Linked DNA regions of Homo sapiens: region 2 is linked to region 1. Evidence: promoter capture Hi-C in human tissues and cell types (Jung and others, 2019). All regions are on one chromosome and are shown on one strand. Each heading gives the region's core, a stretch centred on a gene start or on the middle of the fragment in contact. The rest is flanking DNA. Distances are from core to core; before and after follow the strand shown. Region 1 holds the start of PBOV1 (prostate and breast cancer overexpressed 1). Region 2 overlaps ARFGEF3 (ARFGEF family member 3).

Region 1 (7,040 bases), core at 2,708-5,207:
ACCTGAGAACTACTGTTTCATTCATTTCTGTCCCACATGCCTTGTAGACATAACTCAGAACTTCTACCAACAAGCTTGTCCAACCCTGCGGCCCACGGGGCACATGTAGGCCAGGACAGCTTTGAATGTGGCCCAACACAAATTCGTAAACTTTCTTAAAACATTATAAGTTTGTTTTGCAATTTTTTTTTAAGCTCATCAGCTATCGGTAGTGTTAGTGTATTTTATGTGTGGCCTGAGACAATTCTTCTTCCGATGTGGCTCAGGGAAGCTAAAAGATTGGAAGCCCCTGCTCTACAACACTGTTCCAACTCCAAAAGGCTGACAGCTAGAATCTAGGACTTCCAGAGAAGAACTAGGATGAGCCACTGATCCTTCCCTTTGCTTCAGAGACTGTGGATTAGAGGTCACAACAAGTAGCTGGGCTACAACCTCAATCTTTATTTTTGACCCTAAGAAAATGCATTGTTATTTTATTTCATAAAACATCTACCACTATTAGCAGGTTATCAACCAAATCACTCTCTGGCTCAACTTGCCAAATTTCTGGCAAACAGCTATTCTGAGAGATTTTTTAGTCAACAGATTTTGCTAGAGCTCCTAAATACTCAAGGTGGAAAATCTTTCAAATTCCTCATTGGTTTATGGTCATGTCACGGGTTCTTTTCTGGCCTTTATTGATTGCCACTAGAAATAAGTTATTGATATTCATCAGATATGCCCTTAGCACTGAATTCTAGGAAATACTGTAACAGTGATAGTCACAGAAAAAATATATAAATATTAGTTATAATTAATTTAGCTAATTCACTTGAACAAATAATCTGTTCATTATTTATATTTTCTTCTCCCTTCTAAACCTTCTCCCCTGGCCAAGTCTTATAACTGTCATCTCTAACTAGAGGACTCACAAATCTATTTCTAGAGTCAACATTTTCCCCAGGTTGTAATCCTTAATTTCAGTTTCTAAACATCACAAATAAATATTGACATATTAGACCAAATAATTTCTTTTGTTCAATTCCATGAAAATCACATCAACCTCACTAAGGCTGTAATATGGTAAACAGCTAAACATTTCTTGTTCTAAAATTCTTAATTACCCCTGTAGATATCCCCATCAAGAAACAGAATCTATTTCCCCACCTTTTAAATATGAGGTGTGGAGTGACCATTAGCTTGAAATGACCAATGGGACATCAGCAAGCAAACAAACCAAACCCCCAAAACACTTGGGGCCTCTGAGTTCCTCAATTTTCCCTGCCACTGCCACCATGTAGATAACCTGCCATGCTAGAAAATGAAAGACCTTATAGAAAGAGGTACCAATCTTCCCACCTGGACCTGATGCAGCAATTGTAAGTCAGCCAGCCCCAGCCAAGCCACCAACTGACCGAAGATGTATGAGCAAGCACAGCTGGGATCAGCAAAAGAACAGGACAGCCGAGCCCAGCCTGAACTGCCTACTGCATTTTGGGGTGGTTTCCGATACATGAGGCATAGTCTCAACCATATTTATTTTAGAATATGAACTTGCTTTACTATTTCAAGTGAATTCTAGGAGATTCAGCTGTGTTTATATGGCAAGGCAATTTAGTTGGTCAAGATGAGATCTACTAATTCCAACCCTTATGGAGAACAAACTGGATTGGTCAGTTACGTGTTGATTACTGCTGGATGATAATATGTGATTAAGATGGGAAAAAGAAATTACTGTGGAAGGGCTGAGTCGATGTCCTTCTAGCAAGTATATTAGACATGAAGACCAGCAAGTGTATTAGAACTTGCACCCAAAGGTTGAGTGGAAAAGACTTATTTTTTTGTTCCATTGTACAAGTAGTTCATGTTTTAGAAATAGACTCTAGCCTAAAATTTCAGTAGAATGCAGGATGCATTTTCTCATAGAAGTAAAGATATAAATTACAGATAGTTGCTTAGGGCAGCCTACAGATTTCTCTTTCATCCAGAACATACAGGAAGTATTCTGTATTGGCAATAAATACAATGGAAATAATAGAAAAATAAAAATAAAAAATTCTTAATTATGCTAACATTAAAACTGTACTTAAAGGACTACATATATATAGATATATAGAGAGAACCATGTGGAAAATGCTTATGATTTAAAGTATAAAGCAAGAAATAGGTTGGCTGCAGTGGCTCACACCTATAATCCTAGCACTTCGGGAGGCCAAGGCAGATAGATTGTTTGAACACAGGAGTTCGAGACCAGCCTGGGAAACATGGCAAAACCTTGTCTCTACAAAAGAAATACAAAAATTGGTTGAGCATAGTGGCGCACCCAGTAGGCTGAGGTTGGAGGATCACCTGAGACCTGGAGGTCAAGGCTGCAGTGAGCTGTGATTGCGTGATTGCATCACTGAGCTCTAGCCTGGGTGACAGTGAAACCCTGCAGAAAAAAAGAAAGGAAAAGGAAAAGAAAAGAGAAGATAAAAGAAAAAAAATCCTATACACACAATGAATATAACTATAAACACATAAGTAGATATGATGAGAAATCAGTATACAAGAATCAGTCAACATGATGGGATTTACAATTAACTTTTTCTCTTTTGGAATGCCCATAATGTTAAACTACTAGCACTTCTTTAAATTCATCTTTTAAAATATTCTACACACACACACACACACACGCACATCTATGTCAAAATTTAAATATAAATATTGAGACCTGATAATATGAACTCAGTCTCTATCTCTTAAATTAGTCCCGTAAGACCATCACTCAACCAGAAACTCTGGCTGTGAGTCCTGCAGGCAACTTGGGCTTTCCCTCTCCTACCTACTCACTGCCCATGTCACTGCCAGTCACCAGCTGCTCCTTATTCTGCAAACCAGGTCAGTGCACTCAGCCACACCTTTCTGCATTCAGCCCAGGTGGCCCCTTCCTACTGCCACCTACCTGGATTAAGTCCTGGTACCTCTGGCTCAGCCTCTTCCAATAAGATATTTCACGATGCCAAAGACTTGGTTCTGCTGATTCCTGAATCATCCTGCAAACCCATCCTCCCCCTCCTCACCTTCCATGTTTAACACCCAGCTCTGTCTGGATCACTTGCCTGCTTACAGAGAGCAGGCCCTCTAGAGCCTCTTCAACCACCCTTTCAGGCTCATCGTCCACTATCCCTCACTAATCTCAGTTTCCATCCCCAGGACTTTTTTTCTCTACCAAGAATGCCCTCTCTCCCAACATAATTATCTGAATCCCACCTACCTTTCAAAGTCCAACTCAAATAGTATCCCCTCCTTAAAAGGATGTTCTGCCCTGCTAAACATGCTTCTTCCTCCTGAATGTGCCTCCTGAACTCTTCTCCTGATTAAACATACACAGCTACCTTGAATTGTGGTAATTGGCTGCCTCTTTATTGCTTTCCTACTGAATTATAAACCCTTGCCTTTGAATATTTTGTTTTTAATCCTATATAGTTTTATGCACTGTTGGCAACAAAAATATATTTCCTTAATAAATCAATAAAAAAAGGTCTAAAAAAGCAACAAATTTAAAAGTTCCACGACTTATTTTTTCAAGTTTAATCTGTAACAAGCAGATTTTGACTTAATCTCACAGCTGGGTTTTTAAGAAGTCAAATTTCATTGGTATGCCCCAGATAACACCCTCACTCCTTCCTTTTCTCTTTCCCTCTCAGACTCTCTGCAGAATGAGAGCCTCATCTCAAATTGTCTCTGCCCATACAAACACAGAACTTTTGATAGTTTTATTGTTTATACTTATAGACCTGACCAAGCAAGCTCCTCAAGATAGGGTTGTTAAAGGGCTACAGCCAACCTGATTCTCTACATCTGAAACAATAATTACAGAGCTCTTCTGGAATAATCAAATCATAAAACTCTACCTCGTAGGATGGAACAGAAACATTGGCTCAGCTAAAGAGTGGGTGTTTTCCTTAGATTGTGGAATCATGGCTGATGGTTAGGACCTTAAATATATCGAGGTGGCTAATTGATGTATAATAATTTACAAAATTATTCTTCTATGCTACAGAGCTACAATTCAATTTACAGTAGTAAATATGAGGGCCTTCTTAAGGAACCAGAAATATGAGGATATGCACAATATTATTCACATTTTACAGATCAGAAAATTGAGGCACAGATTAAGTAACTTCCCAAGGCTACCAGGCATTCTAGCTCCAGAAACTGTGCTCTTACCATTCTGCTACAAGGTATTTCGAAAAAAAGAAAAAGTAAAAAGAAGTCAAAAGGCAACAGAGTTCATTGATTATTCCATAGAACAGTCACACCATGCAATTCTCACACCCTTGCAGACACACTTGACCATGAAAGGTTCCTCAATGAAATGTTCCTCATTATCTTCAGAAGCCATATTATTCACATTGACTTTGCAGTTAACTCAGACCCTAGGTCTGGAATGCTGTCTTCTCTACTTATCCAAAACTATACATCCACAGATCATATAAACTCTCAGCCCTGCTGCAAAGCCTTTCCAGAAAAATAAAAATGGTTGAAAAGGCAATTCTGCTACCAATGACTGTTTAAGCCCAGCCAAGTAACTGAACCATTCCAACTTCAATTTACTTATGAAAAGAATTTGATGATGTAGGAGGTTATTTCAATTCTAAAATACAAACCCATGTTGATCTTTCTCAATCTTGAACTCATAGATTATTATCTATTATCTCAATTTAGTTTGTTATTTATCCTAGTGGGCCATTAAAAACTACCACATGTGTTTCTGTCTCTCCATTAGTCAATAACTAAACTAACGAGCAATTAGTAAGCCATGTGCCAGATGCTCCGCTAGGCACCAGAGGGATAAAAACAATACTTATAGTATACCACTAATTTTCGCTTAGTAACTAGTGAAATGTTCAAGTCATGCCTGAGTCAAGAGTTGAGGAGACATTACAATGTGTAATGGAAACCAAGGAAAGTGAAACTTTGGATAAGTGGGGACTAGTGTATTTATATATTTAATTGATTTCTGACTCTATCATTGGCCTCCAAACACAGATTGTGTTTTTCTTTGGTTTTGTTTTCTTCACTATGGGATCTTCTGTGCCCAGCACAGTGCCTGACACATAGAAAACAATCAAATATTTGCTGAATAAATGATTAAAAAATCAGAGAACTTTCCCATTCTGTTTGGATCTATAGAACATCCAGAGTAAGTGATGAGGGCCTCTGCATTTATATGCGCTTAAATTAAGATTATGTGAGAAAAGTTTAAAGACACTTAGTAGAGTGATTTTGAAATATAGTAAACACTTGGAAATGGTGGTGCTTTAAAAAGATATTAATAGATAATATGAAAATCTCCATCTCAAAAATAATGCATAAACTATTTAAAGGAAAATCACATCTCCAGGCTTTCAATGTTTGTTCATTACTTTTTCATATATTTTTACCATCTGCTGAAGGCAGTCATATCAAAGGGTAAAGAAAGATGGGAGGAAAACTCAGTAAGAATTATATTAGTCTGTTTGCAAAGTAGAAAAAGATTCTCATCACTCAACCTTATGAGCAGGAAGAGGGAAGGCTGTTTGAGAACCATTTACTTAGCAGAACCACATATTTTAGACACTTCCCTGCATTAACTGCACAAACAATATGTTTGCAAACTTGTTAGATCAACCTCCAACAACGACACATTCAGGAGTTAAATATTTTTCATCAAACATTGGATTTTTCCTTAACGCTAGAGATTGCTACAAATCTTCTGAAGGGTCTCAATGGCTTCAGGCTAAGAAGAGATTTCTCCCTGTTATAAGCAGCAAGACAAATTAGCCATTTCACTCTCAAACTTCACTAATGATCACATTCTTTCCAAAAGGAACTCTAGAAGACCAAATGCCCCGAGTTAAGAACATCAAAACTAACCATCTGAAGAAACTTCCCAAGTGTAAGACTCTGCCATTAAAACATTACCGAGAGGGGACTCAAACAGTCTTTCTTCCTTTGTCGTGTTTCTTGCTCCCAGACCAAGGCACTGACGACAGTACTGATACATAATTTAAAAGCACACTCCCTTCCACTTTGTAATACCAGAACTCTAATTGGACACCCTGAAGCTTAGGACTACCAGCCATACAAATAGTAAACTCTGTCCACGATTCACTCATCTGTGTATTTTCTATAGATGTTTACTAGGCGTTTGTTATATAAAAATACCCCGGCCAGGCACGGTGGCTCACGCCTGTAATCCCAGCACTTTGGGAGGTGGGTGGATCACCTGAGGTCGGGAGTTCGAGACCAGCCTGACCAGCATGGTGGAACCCCCATCTCTACTAAAAACACAAAAAATTAGCCGGGCGTGGTGGCACATGCCTGTAATCCCAGCTACTCAGGAGGCTGAGGCGGAGAATTGCTTGAACCCGGAAGGTGGAGGTTGCGGTGAGCTGAGATTGCACTATTGCACTCCAGCCTGGGCAACAGGAGTAAAACTCCCCCCCACCCAAAAAAAAAAACAACAACAACAAAAAACCAAAAAACCAAAAAACCAATGGTAAATTACACTCTTTCCCTTTCCCCAACACTCTCTCTCTCTCTCTCTCTCTTTCACACACACACACACACACACACACACACACACACACACACACACACCAGACCGATTAGCTAACTTAGTGGAAAAGACACTTAGATTCCTTCTTCATATGTGAATTTAGCTCACAGGACTAGTGAGGGAATATCATTATCACGGGAAGACACAGAAACCACACAGGACTCTGAGCCACTCCTAGTTTTACCCCTCCTTAGCCTGTGACTTGGCTTTTCTGCTCCATCATCTACACAAGAAGAATAGCAGTGACTAGCACCCACAAGCCTCTCAGGATAGACTTGGCAGGCAAGGTAACCCACCACTTAAGAGCACAGGTTTAACTCCAGGCTGAATACTGCCCTGGTCATTTCACTAGCTGTGTGACCTTAGTATCAATATGTCTGGTGCATAAAAAATGTTAAATGATAAGCCCCTGTCATTTCTCCTTTAAAAATTGCAAAGCACTCTACGAATATTCACTTCTATTATCTAAAAATGC
Region 2 (7,040 bases), core at 2,388-4,887, 120 kb before region 1:
TGTCATCTGCTTACTGCAAGACTCTGGATTTTCCTTCTGCCTGTTACCTTGTCTGTAAAACAAGTGGAAATGTGTAGATGTTATGGCACATGGTTACTATGGATGTCGACCTGATGCCCTTAGCACCTGGCTCTTCAAGAAATCCTGTCCAACCAGCTGCTTCCTCTTCAGAGAATGTACATTTTGAAAAATGGTTATCCATTATTTTGCATATTCCCAAACTTTGTGCTACTAATTTAGTACCATGTATTTCCCAGAGAAGCAAGTAAAGAGGCACTGTTGGCTACAGGGCACTTTATTCTGAGTTGATTAAATGATATTTGAAAAAGGTTTACAAATTGTGCATGCCGTTCCAGACACACACTGCCATGTTCTTCTGTGTTAATAGCTGGCCATGAATAGTATTATTCCATCATTTCCACCTAATTCAGTGAGTTTTCTAAAGTAACACTGAATGTCTGCTTGAAGACTAAAGTTTAGATTTTGGTTTTATTTTCAAACACTTGAAATGTGTTACATGTGATTTTTTTATGTATAAACATGATTCATTTTCTTTTTTCAACTTTATTTTTAAAAACCTCCATAACATCCCAGACAGATCTGAGATGTCAAATAGTCTCATTTTCATGGCCTCGTTCCTTGAAACTTTTTTTCATACTAGAGTGCTTACTCTATGGACTTAGAGCATGTTGTCAGAGAGAGAGTATGGCCCTTGAATTCAGAAACACCTCTTTTGCAACCAACTTTGCCTTTTACTTGTTATCTTGGGCAAATTTCTTAACCTCTCTGGGTCTGTGTTCCCCTCTGAAAAAATGAGGAACACAACACTTGTCTCACAAGGTTGTTGTGAGGACTACGTGTGATAATACAGGTAAGGGTTTGCAATCACAGTGACATTCACTACTCGCCTCCTCCCTGCTATTTGTAACCTCTTGCTATTACTATCAAAGGTCTTCATTCTGTTTGGCTTGATGGGACTGATACTAATGGATTTTCCTTTCTGAGAAAACTTTCCTGTATAAGCAGTATTGTGATGAATCTGGCAAAGTCAAGGGTATCTATTATATAACTGCATTACCGTCTCACAGCGAAGGCTACTTGACTCTCAACTCACTCTGTATAAGCCTCATTTTAAAACAACAAGGACAAAAAGCCTAATGATCATTGCACAAATATGTTTCAATTTCAAGGTACTTCTGAATTATATTAACATTTTTGTCATGTTTGATTTAAAAATTTTAGTTTTATTTACTTGAGACGAAGTCTCACTTTGTCACCCATGCTGCAGAACAATCTTGGCTGACTGCAATCCCCACCTCCCAGGTTCAAGCAATTCTCCTGCCTCAGCTTCCCGAGTAGCTGGGATTACAGGCAGCTGCCACCATGCCCGGCTAATTTTGTATTTTTAGTAGAGACGGGGTTTCACCACGTTGGCCAGGTTGGTCTCGAACTCCTGACCTCAAGAGATCCACCCACCTTAGCCTCCCAAAGTGCTTGAGATTACAGGAATGAGCCATCACGCCTGATTTAAAGTATTTTAATGCGAGCTGTTAAGTATGTTAGCATCTGCCTGGGTTCTTATCGGTCAGTCATTACATAGACCCCAAATCATAAAGGTGTTCTAGTTTTATATCTATGGGGAAGGCTGGAAAATTACCACAAGGGGAGAGAGAGAAGGTGGTGTAAAAAGGCAGCCTAACTAACTATTTTTAAAAGCAGATCAGGAGATACAGGAGCTAGGTGAGATGCTGTGGACAGTGCATGAGGTTCAATTGTGAAAACCGATGTCCTCATTAATGACAGAGAGAACTCTGTCCCTCCATATACTTGGCTGGGCCATCATCAGTCCAGGGTCTCTTATACTTGGAGTTTTCCAGATGTTTGTTTCATGAAGCACACTTTACCAAAATTTAGGAAAAGAAGAGAAAGATCTCAACTTTAAGGTAATATACTTTTGGCTATAAATACAGGCAACTAAAAACAATGTATAAACTCTCATTCTGCTTAGGTCTGTAAATACATGCTAATAACTGTTCGTAACTTTAAAAGGCTGCCTTGAATTTTGTCTTACTGTTGCTGCAAAAGAGACTGTGAGGAGAGAAACACCTGACACTTTCAGAGACTGGGAGGGAGGGAAACAAAGTTGGGGGAGTGGGCAGCTGAGTCACAGGAACAGGGCAAGAGACTGAGCTGGGCAGCCTGGGAAGGTGCCACTCCCCTCTCAGTGTTCTTCATCTCCTCCCTTTCTTCTCCACCTGCTGGGAAGAACCACCTGAATGCCTACTCATTAGAGACTACTTTGCATCAAGCTGCAAATACCTCTGAGAAGTACTGCTGTCACTCAGTGATGGTTCTGGTTGAAATCTGATGTCAGTGTGGATGGCTGGTAACTCGAGTGCAGAGTATGTTAGGACTGAGTTATAGAGAAGACAATGGGAAGGTACCAAAACACTCTTAAAAAATTGTAGGTCAAGAGCTCTGTACACCTACTCATCCTTTTATTCTTGGGACCCATAATCAGGCTAGAACTAGAACAGTGTTTGGACACAGTACAGGGTAAACTTATGTTCAAGAATTTTGGATCCCATAATAGAGCATCGGGGAGAATGCTGATTTCCAAACAAACAACTAACATACTTTGGGATACAGTATTCACTTTTTTTTTTTTTTTTTTTTAGATGGAGTTTCACTCTTGTCACCCAGTCTGGAGTGCAATGGTGCAATCTTGGCTCACTGCAACGTCCGCCTCCTGGGTTCGAGCGATTCTCCTGTCTCGGCCTCCTAAGTAGCTGGGATTACAGGTGCATCCTACCACACCTGGCTAATTTTTGTATTTTTAGTAGAGACGAGGTTTCACCATGTTGTCCAGCCTGGTCTCAAACTCCTGACCGCAGGTTATCTGCCCACCTTGGCCTCCCAAAGTAAGTGCTGGGATTACAGGCGTGAGCCACCGTGCCCAGCTGGTATTCTCAAATTGAGACAGCTTCCTTTGAATTTTTCTACTTTATGAAAAGTTGCTATGTATAAATACTGTAATTCTAGCCTCTGCTTTACTGAAGCCTTTTCCCCCAGTAAACTGTGGAGTACTCACAGGTTCACAAAGAAGAACTGAACCTCAGGTAAGCTATAAAAAGAAACAAAGCAACTGTGGTGTTACTTCTGTTGGAAAATTTAAAAAAAGCAGTTATCCAACTTTCAATTCCATTTATAAAATGTAAAAATTCAAAAGTATACAACATAGTTCACTGATATCCCAACAATTCATTGCCTTTTAAGATCAAATAGCTGATTACCTGTTTCTAAACTTGAATTATTGTCTAGTGAGTAAAAACTGAAGGCAAACAGAGTGTTTTGTGGAACTGGGAAAAAAATGGATTCTGTGGTGATCTCTAGATGGTACACTGGATGATAAGGGTGTTTTTTTCAGATCACCTAAAGAAGTCAGAACACTGCCTTCCTCTTAACCTCTAAGGTAGTTCCATATTTCTCAAGGAGGGCAAAGTTTACAAATACCCCTTTAAATCCTTATTTCAATACTGTAGAATTTGTGTCTTATATTTAAAGGGTGACTTATTCATTATGAATGGGGCTGGGAGATTATAATGTATGCCTTAAATAACTCTGTAGAATGTGTGTAAGTAAGCTTGATTGAGGAGTTTTCAATCATTAGGATAATGTAAGAAATATAAAAATACTGTAAATAATAAGATAAAGCTTTCAAACGTATTTTCTAGTAATACTTAGAAATATCCACCTGAAATATTGGTCTGAATGCAAAGACATCAAACATAGGGTAACTTTACTTGGTAGATAGGAGAAATATTTTAAATCGACAAAATTTTCTAAATTTCAGTGTCTTTCTCCATTACTTTCATTTTGAGACTAGAGCTTGTGTAACTGACACCATAATTTTGCAAGATTGTTGTATTATATTTTAAGATTGAAAATGATTTCATCATAATCCATCCCCACCCCACACTCCCTGCTCCCTTCCCTGAGTCCCTTTCCTCCAAGCGTGTTGATATAAAATGAGTTGCGTCTTAATGTTTTGTTTTCTTAAAAACCAAATGCTATACCTTATGTTCAGACAATTGTGGGGCATGGAAATGGAAGTGCAACAAAGGACTAAGGCACCTTTTCTTCTTTCCTTTCCTTTCCTTGTTTGCCTTGGGGATGGAAACAAACACCACAAGAACAGCCAGGGTGGCTGGTCGGTCTTATGTCTCTTGACAATCTACGTACCAGCCACTTTCACTGGGTACTCTGTGTCACAGGCTGATAAGCCACAGACTTCAAACCCTGCTAGGAAAGAACTTTCTTCTTTTAGAAATACAGAAATAAAGGTACAACACAGTACCTTACATGGGGAAATTGGTGAATACCTGAAAATCTTAATGATTTAGGAATAATTTTGAAGTGTTCTGGATTATTTTACAACAGAAGTCACCTCTTTCTTGATTATGACACCCAAGAATATGTATTTATAGTTGTCTTCTTCCCAGCCAGACCCATAACCATAAATCTTCCTCCAATTAATAATCCCTGGTACTAGATGTCTGAGTGTTTATCAGCTTGACTTACCAGCAGATATTGCCTTAGGAATTGTATTTATTTTTTAAATGATGGATCAAATGGATCAATATAGTGTTTTCAAATGAGTAATCCTTGAAAATGACCCATTTGGGGACAACACTGTAAGCAAAAGCACTGGGAAATATACTTCAAGAGTTAGAAACATATCAAGGATTATAGATTCTTCTATAATAATGTGCAAAATCAGAATATCGTTTGTGTCATCTAGATACAAACCTTAGTATGGCCCCAATGCTGATCAGTGGTTGGAAAGGCTTTTTACATTAGGAAACACTGTTCTCTGAGACAGTAGTAGTAGTTTAAGTGGGGCTAGTGGTGGGGAAAATGCAACAGCTGTATTGGCAGGACTCTAACCCTCACTACTGTTATTTGGTGGGAGAGTAGAACAGGAGTCGGCTACACAATGATGTCATAGACACGGCCCACCCTGCCCAGCCACTCCCTCACAGCCTGGCGAACTCTGATGTCGGTCACGTGACAGGTCAGCTGACTGATGCACGGGAACACTGCGGGCTGGAGGGCCGTGAAGGTCTGGTCTGGGAGAATCTGAATCTGATTGAGAACTGTTAGCACCATGTTGGTCCATGCCTAAGAGAAAAGATTTAAGAAAATCAGTGGCTTTCCCCCCTGGTTTTATTTGAACACTTGAGAGTGGCCCTGCCAATGTGGAAATGGTTTTTTTCCAGGCTTTAGTTGCAATAAATTAGTTTTCACTCATTTAATATGCCTATAATAAATTGTAGGCGTATTAATTTATTATGCCTACATCATAACTTCACATACATAAAGATGGGCAGAGACTCGCCTTATTTTCAGCTTTCACAAACTACTAAACTCTTACTTATTCCTTAGATTTAAAAACAACAACAACAACAAACCTCCCTTGCCTTCTCACAGTGAGATCTCCACAGGCCGTTAATCTCAAACTCATTTTTTGATGCACCATAGAATTACACTCAAAGCCTCCCTGAAGAATGAGAATTTTTATGTGCACAGGATGGGCTAGAAAAACTTGAGATGAAAACAATTTGAAAAAAATTCATTGGCATAACCACACAATATTTACTTTGCTTTTTTCTTTTATATAATGCTTCATAACTACAGAATTTCTTCAGGGCCATTTTCGAATGACACACTAAGAACTCAATGCTAGTCAAAGCTTACTTGTTTTTAAAGACAGGGTCTCTCTATGTCATCCAAGCTGGAGTGCAGTGGCACCATCTCAGCTCACTGCAACCTCTGCCTCCTGGGATCACACAATCCTCCTTGCTCAGCCTCCCAAGTAGCTGGGATTACAGGCATGTGCCACCTCTCCCAGCTAATTTTTTTTTTTTTTTTGTAGAGATGATGGGTTTTGCCGTGTTGTCCAGACTGAAAAAGCTTACATGTTATAAGCTTTAGCCTCACCTTATTTATACAGGTAAGTTCCTAATTCTCAATAATATACATTACTATGGAGAAAAACAGTTCCTGAAATTACCTGAGAGTAAAATTCCAGCTTCATAATGACATACTGATCCTGGGAGATCCTGCACTTAGGTTCAGGCAGTCCTCTGACTTTGGAGGGAAATCGGTTCATACCCCCTACCTGTTTCTATAAATCTTAGCCTGTGTATGCCTGCTCTGCAAGGGGGGGCCCATCCAGTACTGGAAACCCAGCCTCCCGCCCACCTGCTGTGGCCACAGGGATGTACCTGGATCTGTGCTTCTGCGTCTCTCACCGAGACACTGAGGGAGCTCCCGGTGGAGCCTGAGCGGGGCCTCTTGTCCTGTCGCAGCAGCTCGGGGCCTGCGCTGAAGGAATGCCGCATTTGCCCTTGGTCCATCAAGTGCTGGGGACGCTGAAGCAGCGGGGAGTCCTGGCCCCTGGGACCCAGTGGCTCTCCTTTCTTCTCCACTTTGACCTCTTTGGGGAACGCGGACAGGTTGTGCTGCTGTTTCCTCTTTTTGTATTCGGTCATCAACTTTGAAATGGTCTTGTCGGCTGCCATGGTGTAGATTTTGTTCCCCGCATTCTCCCACCACTCCTTCTTCCGGCTGGGATCCTTCTTCTCCACTTTGGGGCTGGGGGGCAGCAGCAGGTCCCCACCACCGGCCTTCAGGCTCAGGGACTCGCCCATGTGCTCCCGGGACTGGCTTCTGTCATCCTCGGAAGGGGTTTCTTTCCCAGAGAAGCCCCCGGTGGATGGGGTGGATGACTCGGACTGGAAGGAGGGCAGGATGAAGAACGGGTCGCCCTTGAAGATGGGAGGCTCCTCCATACAGTTCTCCAGGTCCAAGTGCATCTGGATGTAGTTGTTGCACAGTTCCATGCACAGCTTGTGCAGCCTCTTGACCAGCCACACCCAATCTGCGTTGCTGACAGGCTGGACGCTGAGCAAGGGCATCCGTGCCCGCCACTGTCTCTTCTCCTTGCCTCTCGGGGGGCTGACCTGGGCGGTTTCCTC

Evidence for each region. The method cuts DNA at HindIII sites, captures the fragments that hold promoters and counts their contacts. A contact is called where the count stands out against the background at its distance.
Region 2: a contact is called between a fragment that was not itself captured here and the fragment with the promoter of PBOV1 in region 1, in 2 of the 25 tissues and cell types used here (H1 embryonic stem cells and aorta).

The regions. Positions count from the first base shown.
Region 1 is chr6:138,215,408-138,222,447 of GRCh38, reverse strand. PBOV1 (prostate and breast cancer overexpressed 1) reads left to right here and starts at 3,957. Exons shown (of 1, transcript NM_021635.3): 1 at 3,957-6,462. The coding sequence starts at 4,053. The coding sequence ends at 4,460. All of the region lies in intron 4 of ARFGEF3 (ARFGEF family member 3), which reads right to left. The HindIII fragment of the contact is 10,102 bases long and covers 1-7,040 here.
Region 2 is chr6:138,334,436-138,341,475 of GRCh38, reverse strand. ARFGEF3 (ARFGEF family member 3) reads right to left here. Exons shown (of 34, transcript NM_020340.5): 33 at 6,288-7,040; 34 at 1-5,181. The coding sequence ends at 4,990. Among named protein-coding and RNA genes, the nearest start is that of SMIM28, 40 kb to the left of the region's middle. RefSeq lists enhancers at 5,891-6,492, 6,493-7,040. The HindIII fragment of the contact is 4,689 bases long and covers 1,293-5,981 here.